Regions from separate parts of the Homo sapiens genome. Here regions 2 and 3 are each linked to region 1. The links are contacts of gene promoters, found by promoter capture Hi-C in human tissues and cell types (Jung and others, 2019). All regions are on one chromosome and are shown on one strand. Each heading gives the region's core, a stretch centred on a gene start or on the middle of the fragment in contact. The rest is flanking DNA. Distances are from core to core; before and after follow the strand shown. Region 1 holds the start of ANKRD12 (ankyrin repeat domain 12). Region 2 overlaps MTCL1 (microtubule crosslinking factor 1). Region 3 has its middle 28 kb from the start of MTCL1.

Region 1 (2,951 bases), core at 184-2,683:
ACACAGTTAATTTACGATAAAATAGCTATTTCACTAGCCTTTCTTTATAATTTACATAAACCATTCTAAAATGAAAACGAAATACATGACTGCAGATGCAGGCTCATTTCAACTTTAGGATTAGAGGTAATTCCGAACCATTACATACACAGCACTGGATCTGCAACACACTTCACCTTAGTTCGCAGTTTAACCACGGGTGTCCAGTGGAAATTACAATCCCGGTGACTACACTGCTTTAAATGTTTCCTAAGGTTTCAACGAGTGCAACAGTAACTTCCTATCCCAGACAGCGTCTTACTGTTATTACTAAAACAGCTGTCAGCTAAGCTTCGCATACCTCTTTGTACAACCGTTTATTCAACGCTTTGGGATCTGTAAGGATGCGTCACTCCACATCACTCCTCAAAACGAGATCTAAGAACCTGACGTGCTCCAGGGGTCTTGAAGCATCACAAGTGGGTACTTGAAAAACGATGACGGGAACTGCCTGTCCAATGCGGCAAGGTTATTTTACACTGGCATTTAAGACAGAACTGTAGAGTGGCTGCTCTTTCCCCGGACACTACTAAAGCAGCAATTTCCCCTTCTTGATTTCATCCACCTCTCCCAGGACCCGGGTACCTCCGACGCTCCCGGCCCGAGCGGCCGCGGCAGACTCCCCGGCGTCGGCGCACGCTCGGCGGCTGGCGGCGGGAACGCGCGGCGGGCCGGGCGCGCCCCCGCCCCCGCGGGTCCGACCGCCGCACGCCAGCGGCGCCCTCTCGGCCGCGCACACTCACACTCGCACGCACACGCTCCTCCGGCCCCGCCATGTTCCGGGAGGCGGCGGCAGCCCAGCCCCGCCAGCCGCGGTGAGGGGCGCCCGCGACGAGGCCAGCTCGCGGCCCTCCGCCCGGCCCCCGCCCCGCCCCGCGCAGCGCCCCCGCCCAGTTGGCGGCTCCCACCTGCGCCGCGGCTCCTCGCGACGCCGGGAGGGGCGGCGGCGGGCGGGGCCCCGGCGGACCCGCGCCGGGGGGCACTAACGGCCTGTCACTGTCAGGCGAGCTACGGCTCGGGCCAGGCTGGGCGGGCGGCGCGTCGGGACCGGGGGGGGCGGGCAGGGCGCGTCCCCTACCTTGCTCTGGGGAGGGGGAACGGGAGCAGCGCAGAACTGAGGGGATCTCCTCCCTGGCGCCGGGGACAAGCTCGAAACCGCGCCCCTCCTTCCTCCTTTCCTGTCGCCACGCCCCCCTCACCCGTACGGACCCGAGGCAAGGCCGGCGCAGGAGGCTTCACCCCCGGAACGAGTGCTTCGGCGTAGCCGTCGCTGTCGTTGTCTTCGTCGCCGCTGCAGCCGCCTGTAAAGCCGCCGGAGCCGGGCTTGAAAACATCTCCGGTCTCGGTCCGTCTCTCACCACAGCCTCCTCGCTCCCAGGACAGCGTCGCCCCGCGATTGGCTGCGACGCGAGCACGTGACACCCGCGGACACGTGACTACCGCGGGCACGGGACGGGCGGCGTGACCGCCCCGCCCCCCGGCGCCCGCCCCTCCTGCTGCTCAGCCAGGCTCCGCGAGCCGCAGGGCGGGGAAGCGGGACGTACCAAGCGGCAGGCGGCGGAGGGGTGCGGGCCGGAACTCCGCCCTTCGTGCTGGTCGGTCTCCACGCCCCACTCGGACTAGTGTCACCGCCTCCCCGCCGCAGACACTATCCGACAAAGGAGGGGGAATCAAAGGCTGGGCGAAGAGGCAGGGCAGGCGCCGGTGACGCTGCTGGGCAAGCGGGCTCTGCAGTAGCATTTGTGGCGACCGTGGCAGTGGCTGTGACTGGAAGCTTCTGGAAATGGCGGCGATGAGGACCCCCACATAGGGTATTCACCTGTTATTTTTACACGGGGTGGGTGGACGAGCGTGATCCAACTCAGGCAAAATGACGCTGCGACCGCAGCCCGAGGACTAGGCGAAGTTCCCCCGCTAAGCCGGCGGCGGCCGTCTGGCCCCGCACCAGGCCGGAGAAGCTGCACCTACGCCCAGAGCCCGCGGCCCCCCGCCTCAGGTGGGGCCCTGGGCCCCGCCCCGAAAGCGCGGTAGCGTGCACCTGCCCTGGCACCAGGGGGTCTAGAGCGCGTCCCCTCCCAGCCACGCCTTCCAGTGGCCTTTTTAAAGAGGAATTCAGTGCACCCTCCCACACGTAGTGTTGGGGATTTGAGAGGGAGCTGCTCAGGTACTAGGAAGGGTGCCGGAGGAAAATTGACCGTCGCAGCGTGGCAGCAGCGTGTACTCACTCCCTTCTGGGCGCGTTATTTACGTAGAGGTTAATCTGCAACAACAGCGTCTGTTTATGACTTAGTGCATGCAGTTACAAGTTTATGTTACACTGTCCTTTAACGTCTTGATGAACTGAGGGTTCAGGTGTGATCACAGCAGATGAAGTGACATTCAGACCTGACAGGGACGGCGAGGTCCCATCAAATTACTATGTAAAGCATAAACCTGCATTAAAGATCAGGAGTTTTTCCTTTCCTGGGTTCCTGATTTCTCCCACCTACAAATCTTTAGGGTCAACAAGACTAGAAAAAGAGCACCTTATGGCTAGAGGTGGAATAGTGTTACATTTAACTTGGTTATTTATGATGTGAAATACAAAGAAAAAAACAGTCGCCTATGAGAAAGTCAGGAGAGCTCCAGGGTAGGACATTTTCATTGTTACTTTTTTGTGCCACTTGGAAAATTAACTGTTGTTTACCTTCTCTCAATTAAAAAAAAAATCTTAAAGACATACTTAAAAATAATCGTTATAGCCGAGCGCAGTGGCTCACGCCTGTAATCCCAGCAATTTGGGAGGCTCAGGCGGGCAGATGGCTTGAGCCCAGGAGTTTGAGACCAGCCAGGCAACATAGTAAGACCCTGTCTCTAAAAAAATATATGAAAATTAACCAGGCTGGTGGCGCCTGCCTGTGCTCCCAGCTGCT
Region 2 (3,013 bases), core at 160-2,659, 430 kb after region 1:
TCTTAATCATGTTAATAACTATATGAAAATCTTAATCTCTTTTAAATACCCAAAATCAGTAACTATCTCTATTTTAGCACCTCCTCTTTAAATAGACCCAGTTTGGATGGTAGAAGGAGTCCTCTGGCTACTGCTGCAATAATTCTATCTTCTGGGCAGACAGAAACTACTGTCTTTTGTAACATACGAATAATCCACCTCATTTCCCTCCAGACAAGGGAAATGTTCTCCAAGAGTCCCAGCTGTAACTAAGGAGGTGCAGGGCGACTCCCACTGTCTACCAGGTGATGGTCCAGCCAGCAGCTGGTGGCCGCAGCCCTTGTCTACATTAACTGCCACTGAAAATGATCATAGCCACTCTTTCAGTGGCTGAATACAGAGTGGGTATGGACAGCGAATGTCAGGAAAGAATGGGGAATACTGTCCATGTTAACCCTTCTGAAAGAGAAAGGAGGAGGAGGCGGGGAGCAAGGAGGCGCTGAGACACCTCAGCTACAGAGCACTGCTTGCGCTCCTCTCCAAGTGCCCCTCCACCCCCAGGCCACACTGAGCACCCGGCATCTGGGCAGCCCAGCTGCCAAATGTCAAAAACCAGGTCAGGGCCTGAAACTCAAAAGGCTAACTCCAATGAGAAGCAGGATGGTAAGCTTGGATCAGCAGTGAGACACTGCAACCTATAAAACCAAAACTCAACCTCTCCCTTAGGAAATCATTCCTCTCCAAGAAGCCAATTTTCTCTGCCCTTGTATCTAGCACCAACTTGTTTTCTTTTAACAGAAAAATATTTCCTATGAAATAACTGAGAAAGCAAAGCAAAGCAAAAAGAAACAGCTCTTCCCACCCCAATCCTCACCCACCCTGCAGGAGGTCAGCATGGCAAGAGGACACTATTTGGGGGTGGGGGAGGTGTGGGGTTATGGCTGCTAAAAGCATTTTCAAAATAGGCTCATAAATGCCAACTGATTAAATCCTCCTGAAAAGCCTGTGGAAACAGAGAACATAATTAATATGTTGACAACGAGCACTCCGGCTTGTCTGACTGTCTCCGAGCACTCGAGCAAAACACAGTCTTGGCAGCCTGGCAGGGAAGGAACACACCAGCGCTTTACCAAAGTCCTCAGCATTAAGAAAGTGCCTGGGTTCAACCTACAACATGGGAGAAAATTTTTGCAACCTACTCATCTGACAAAGGGCTAATATCCAGAATCTACAATGAACTCAAACAAATTTACAAGAAAAAAACAAACAACCCCATCAAAAAGTGGGCGAAGGACATGAACAGACACTTCTCAAAAGAAGACATTTATGCAGCCAAAAAACACATGAAAAAATGCTCACCATCACTGGCCATCAGAGAAATGCAAATCAAAACCACTATGAGATATCATCTCACATCAGTTAGAATGGCAATCATTAAAAAGTCAGGAAACAACAGGTGCTGGAGAGGATGTGGAGAAATAGGAACACTTTTACACTGTTGGTGGGACTGTAAACTAGTTCAACCATTGTGGAAGTCAGTGTGGCGATTCCTCAGGGATCTAGAACTAGAAATACCATTTGACCCAGCCATCCCATTACTGGGTATATACCCAAAGGACTAGAAATCATGCTGCTATAAAGACACATGCACACGTATGTTTATTGCGGCATTATTCACAATAGCAAAGACTTGGAACCAACCCAAATGTCCAACAATGATAGACTGGATTAAGAAAATGTGGCACATATACACCATGGAATACTATGCAGCCATAAAAAATGATGAGTTCATGTCCTTTGTAGGGACATGGATGAAACTGGAAATCATCATTCTCAGTAAACTATCACAAGAACAAAAAACCAAACACCGCATATTCTCACTCATAGGTGGGAATTGAACAATGAGATCACATGGACACAGGAAGGGGAATATCACACTCTGGGGACTGTCGAGGAGTAGGGGGAGTGGGGAGGGATAGCATTGGGAGATATACCTAATGCTAGATGACGAGTTAGTGGGTGCAGCACACCAGCATGGCACATGTATACATATGTAACTAACCTGCACAATGTGCACATGTACCCTAAAACTTAAAGTATAATAAAAAAAAAAAAAGTAAAAAAAAAAAGAAAAAAGAAAACAGATTAAAAAAAAAAAAAAAAAAAAGAAAGCCTTCCATACCAAAATTCAAACCCCTCCTTTATCAGACATTGCCCTAGACTACTCAAGCCTAACATAGACTAGTTCCCAAGCTTTACTCCCTGCCCCCATTTATTGCTCCTTTATGCTACAAACATGATTGCAAGAGGGAAAATGTAATTTTTAAAATTCACTTTGGTAAAAGGGATTCCAATGATTTCATTACCACCTTAAACTTTTGTGAAAAAAAAAAACTCATCACTTTAAATTATTAAAGTGTATATTTAACCATTATTGTCATCCAGGTACACTTTCAACAGTTTTGTTTCTATTAAGGCTGTAATTATTTTATAAGGAAACATTAAATATTTACCATAATTAAAGAGAAAAAAAAAAAAAAAAAAAAAGAAAGTGCCTGGGTTTTATGAGAAGCCCAGGCCTTTGGATAACTGAAGTGCTCACCTGAATTTCTGAATACTTCCAAATGTATTTGAGTTTATCAGAGGTCAAAGGACAACAAGAGTGCTTTTCTGTCTGTGTTTTCACACAAAAGCCAGCTACCTGGATTGATTTTGCATTTTTCACCTAGTCACCCAGGCACCATTTGATGAAGGTGGAGAAGGAACAGAAAGCAGAGTCAGGGACGACCAAATTTGCTCTGTTACAGCACAACACAAGGTGTCCGCTTCTCTGTTGACACTGACTATTTAAAAAAATACAGGCCAGGCCGGGCGCGGTGGCTCATGCCTGTAATCCCAGCACTTTGGGAAGCCGAGGCGGGCAGATCACCTGAAGTCAGGAGTTCAAGACCAGCCTGGCCAACATGGTGAAACCCTGTCTCTACTAAAAATTCAAAAACTAGCTGGGCGTGGTGGCGGGCACTTGTAATCCCAG
Region 3 (2,915 bases), core at 119-2,618, 460 kb after region 1:
AGTGAAAATGTGCAGCATTACAAATTTCCTTAGCTCAGAAATGAAAGAACAGTGTGAGCAGGGTTATCTTTTCTACTACAGATTACAAACACATAGAAGAAAAGTCAGTTGAGGAATGCACCAGTAAAAATGCCTTTATTTAGTCTGAGTATATGAAAAAAAGACAAAAATTCATAATTTATTTTATTTTATATTTATTTAGAGACGGAGTCTTGCTCTGTTGCCCAGGCTAGAGTACAGTAGTGCAATCTCAGCTCACTGCAACTTCTGCCTCCCAGGTTCAAGCGATTCTCCTGCCTCAGTCTTCTGACTAGCTGGGACTGCAGGCGCCCACCTCCACGCCCAGCTAATTTTTTGTATTTTTAGTAGAGACGGGGTTTCGCCATGTTGGCCAGGCTGGTCTCAAACTCCTGACCTCAAGTGATCCGCCAGCCTCGGCCTCTCAAAGTCCTGGGATTACAGGCGTGAGCCACCATGCCCAGCTCATAATTTATTTTTAAATTAAAAAGAGACAGCAAAAATTATCCCTAGAGACTTGCTTGCACTCCAGGGTGACAATGACAATGTCTCTGGAGAGGAGAGTCACTAGGCCGCCAGCAGCCCCTTCTGAGACTGGTGGTCTCCTAGGCTCAGGGGTCCTCAGCTGTGCACTGATCCCCTGTCTGTGCAGCCTCCCCGACGCCTGCCTCCACAGAGCCCCCGTGGGATTGGGAGGAAAAGGAACTAATTTGAAATAAGTTGTCTGCATCCATACGGATCATGGTTGTCTTACAGGCCAAATCTATGGAAAGGTAGCAAGTCAGCCTGGCAGCTCCCACTGCTGCGGTTTGGGACCCGCTTGACTGCTCATCACTCTTTTGTGAAACCCCTTTTTGCTTATTTTGCCAGTTTTCTACATTTTATATCTGTGGCAATTCCTTATATATTGTGCATATAAGTCCTTCATTATTTAAATGTAATGCAGTATGCATGTGTTTGCAGATAATAAGCATAACATTTTTAAAGTGCATAATATTGAGAACTAAAAGTATATAAGCTGTAAGTGTACAACTTGATGAATTACCACAAAGGGCACACACCCAAGTATCACCAAGCAATAGAACATCACTAGCACCCCAGAAGCCTCCTTGTGCCTCTGCTAGAGTGGCCACTCTCCTGACCTCCAGCGCCATAGGTTAGGTTTGCCTGTCTTGAGCGTTACAGAAATAAAATAGTTTAGTTTTTTTCTTTTGTGTCTTGTTTCTTTTGCTCAGTATTACGTTTATGAGTTTCATACACACATATTGTTTTATATAGCTCTATTTCATTCTTTTTCATTGCTGTATAGAGTTCCATTGCAACTGCCACAATTTATCCATTCCACTGTTCAATTGCTTGCATTTGGGGGCTATTAATAATGCTGCCCCAATAAATATAGACAACTATTACTTGTCAATTTAAAAATGCTACTGTGGGGCTGGGCATGGTGGCTCACGCCTCTAATCCCAGCACTTTGGGATGCCAAGGCGGTTGGATCACCTGAAGTCTGGAGTTCGAGACCAGCCTGACCAACATGGCGAAACCCTATCTCTACTAAAAATACAAAAATTAGCTGGGCACTGTGGTGCACGCCTGTAGTCCCAGCAACTTAGGAGGCTGAGACAGGAGAATCACTTGAACCCAGGAGGCAGAGGTTGCAGTGAGCCAAGATCACGCCATTGTACTCTAGCCTGGGTGACAGAGTGAGACTCCATCTCAAAAAATAAAAATAAAAAAATGCTGATTCACGTGTGCATGCAGTTCTATTAGCTATAATTTTAGTAGATAATACAAAAGAAGTTTCCCAAAATGATGGCTGTACCACAATCTACTCCCATCAAATTATATGAGAGTTACTATCCTCCAACATATGGAATTATTCTCCTAGATATATTGTAAAACCAGCCTCAGTTCCAATAAATACACACATACACACAAAATATACATACGTTTAGAATTTGCACTGAACGTACTGATGATCTCTCTCTCTGCCTTTCTCTGTAATATTAACGCAGTATTTGTTTTCTAAAACATTTAAATTCCTACATAGGTTTAGAAGGAGAGACGTTCTTAAAATTTTCTGTTCTCATAGAGCAGTTGTTTTTAATTATAAGGTTCATGGGCCCTTTTCAGAATAAAACATATAGACTTTCTCCTCTATAAAATGCACGTATGTACAAATGCCCATAGAACTCTACCCGAGCAACCATAGAGACCCAGAAGCTCAGACCCCAGATTAAGGACTCTGTCATGAGGCACAGACCTGAGCCGATTCCTCTCGAGGGGTCTTCCAGGGCTGTTTCCTGCTTTTTAATCTCCCCCTTATTTTCAATGGAGGAAAGCCCTAACTTCTGAATTTGAAAGAGTTAGCCTCATTTCAAGGAGCGGAGGGTCGGCTCCTGCATGCTGTTGTTCCAAGGGGTTGGAGGGCGTCTGAGCTGAGCTCACTCCCTGGCAGCATCTCACTGCCCCTCCGCCTTTGCCCAGGAGCCTCTGCTCTGCTCGCATAGCTGCTATTGCCTATGATGCCAACTCATACAAATCAGTCGTGGCTACCCACCCTCCAGCCACTGGCTCAGTCTCTCCCATCTCCACATTTCCAAGAAGGAACTATCATCCCCCAATTTCCACATTTCCAGGGGAAAAATAGAATTGGCTGGAACTCCTGAGCCAGCGGGAAGGTCAGGTGGTGCAGAGTCCCATGGGTCCCGCGCCCTGGCTGCCCGTTAGAATCACCCAGAATACAGATGCCTGGCCCCCACTCCATCAGATTAAATCAGTGTCTTGGGACAGGGGCCAAATGTTGGCGTATTTTAAGTTTTCTCTGGTAACTCTTCTGATGCTCAGGGAATGTTGTATAGGCCAAGAGCTACAGACAGGCAAACAATGTAAAAAAT

Evidence for each region. The method cuts DNA at HindIII sites, captures the fragments that hold promoters and counts their contacts. A contact is called where the count stands out against the background at its distance.
Region 2: a contact is called between a fragment that was not itself captured here and the fragment with the promoter of ANKRD12 in region 1, in 1 of the 25 tissues and cell types used here (dorsolateral prefrontal cortex).
Region 3: a fragment that was not itself captured here is called in contact with the fragment with the promoter of ANKRD12 in region 1 in 1 of the 25 tissues and cell types used here (heart left ventricle).

The regions. Positions count from the first base shown.
Region 1 is chr18:9,135,263-9,138,213 of GRCh38, reverse strand. It overlaps ANKRD12 (ankyrin repeat domain 12), which reads right to left and starts at 1,433. Exons shown (of 13, transcript NM_015208.5): 1 at 1,249-1,433. It overlaps NDUFV2-AS1 (NDUFV2 antisense RNA 1), which reads left to right and starts at 1,494. Exons shown (of 3, transcript NR_110772.1): 1 at 1,494-1,850. RefSeq lists silencers at 666-715, 756-1,155, 1,366-1,715, 2,066-2,155, 2,158-2,331 and enhancers at 1,286-1,335, 1,826-1,875. The HindIII fragment of the contact is 7,523 bases long and covers 1,073-2,951 here.
Region 2 is chr18:8,709,971-8,712,983 of GRCh38, reverse strand. All of the region lies in intron 1 of MTCL1 (microtubule crosslinking factor 1), which reads right to left. Among named protein-coding and RNA genes, the nearest start is that of GACAT2, 3.9 kb to the right of the region's middle. The HindIII fragment of the contact is 3,424 bases long and covers 1-3,013 here.
Region 3 is chr18:8,675,866-8,678,780 of GRCh38, reverse strand. No RefSeq gene overlaps it. Among named protein-coding and RNA genes, the nearest start is that of MTCL1, 28 kb to the left of the region's middle. The HindIII fragment of the contact is 6,680 bases long and covers 1-2,915 here.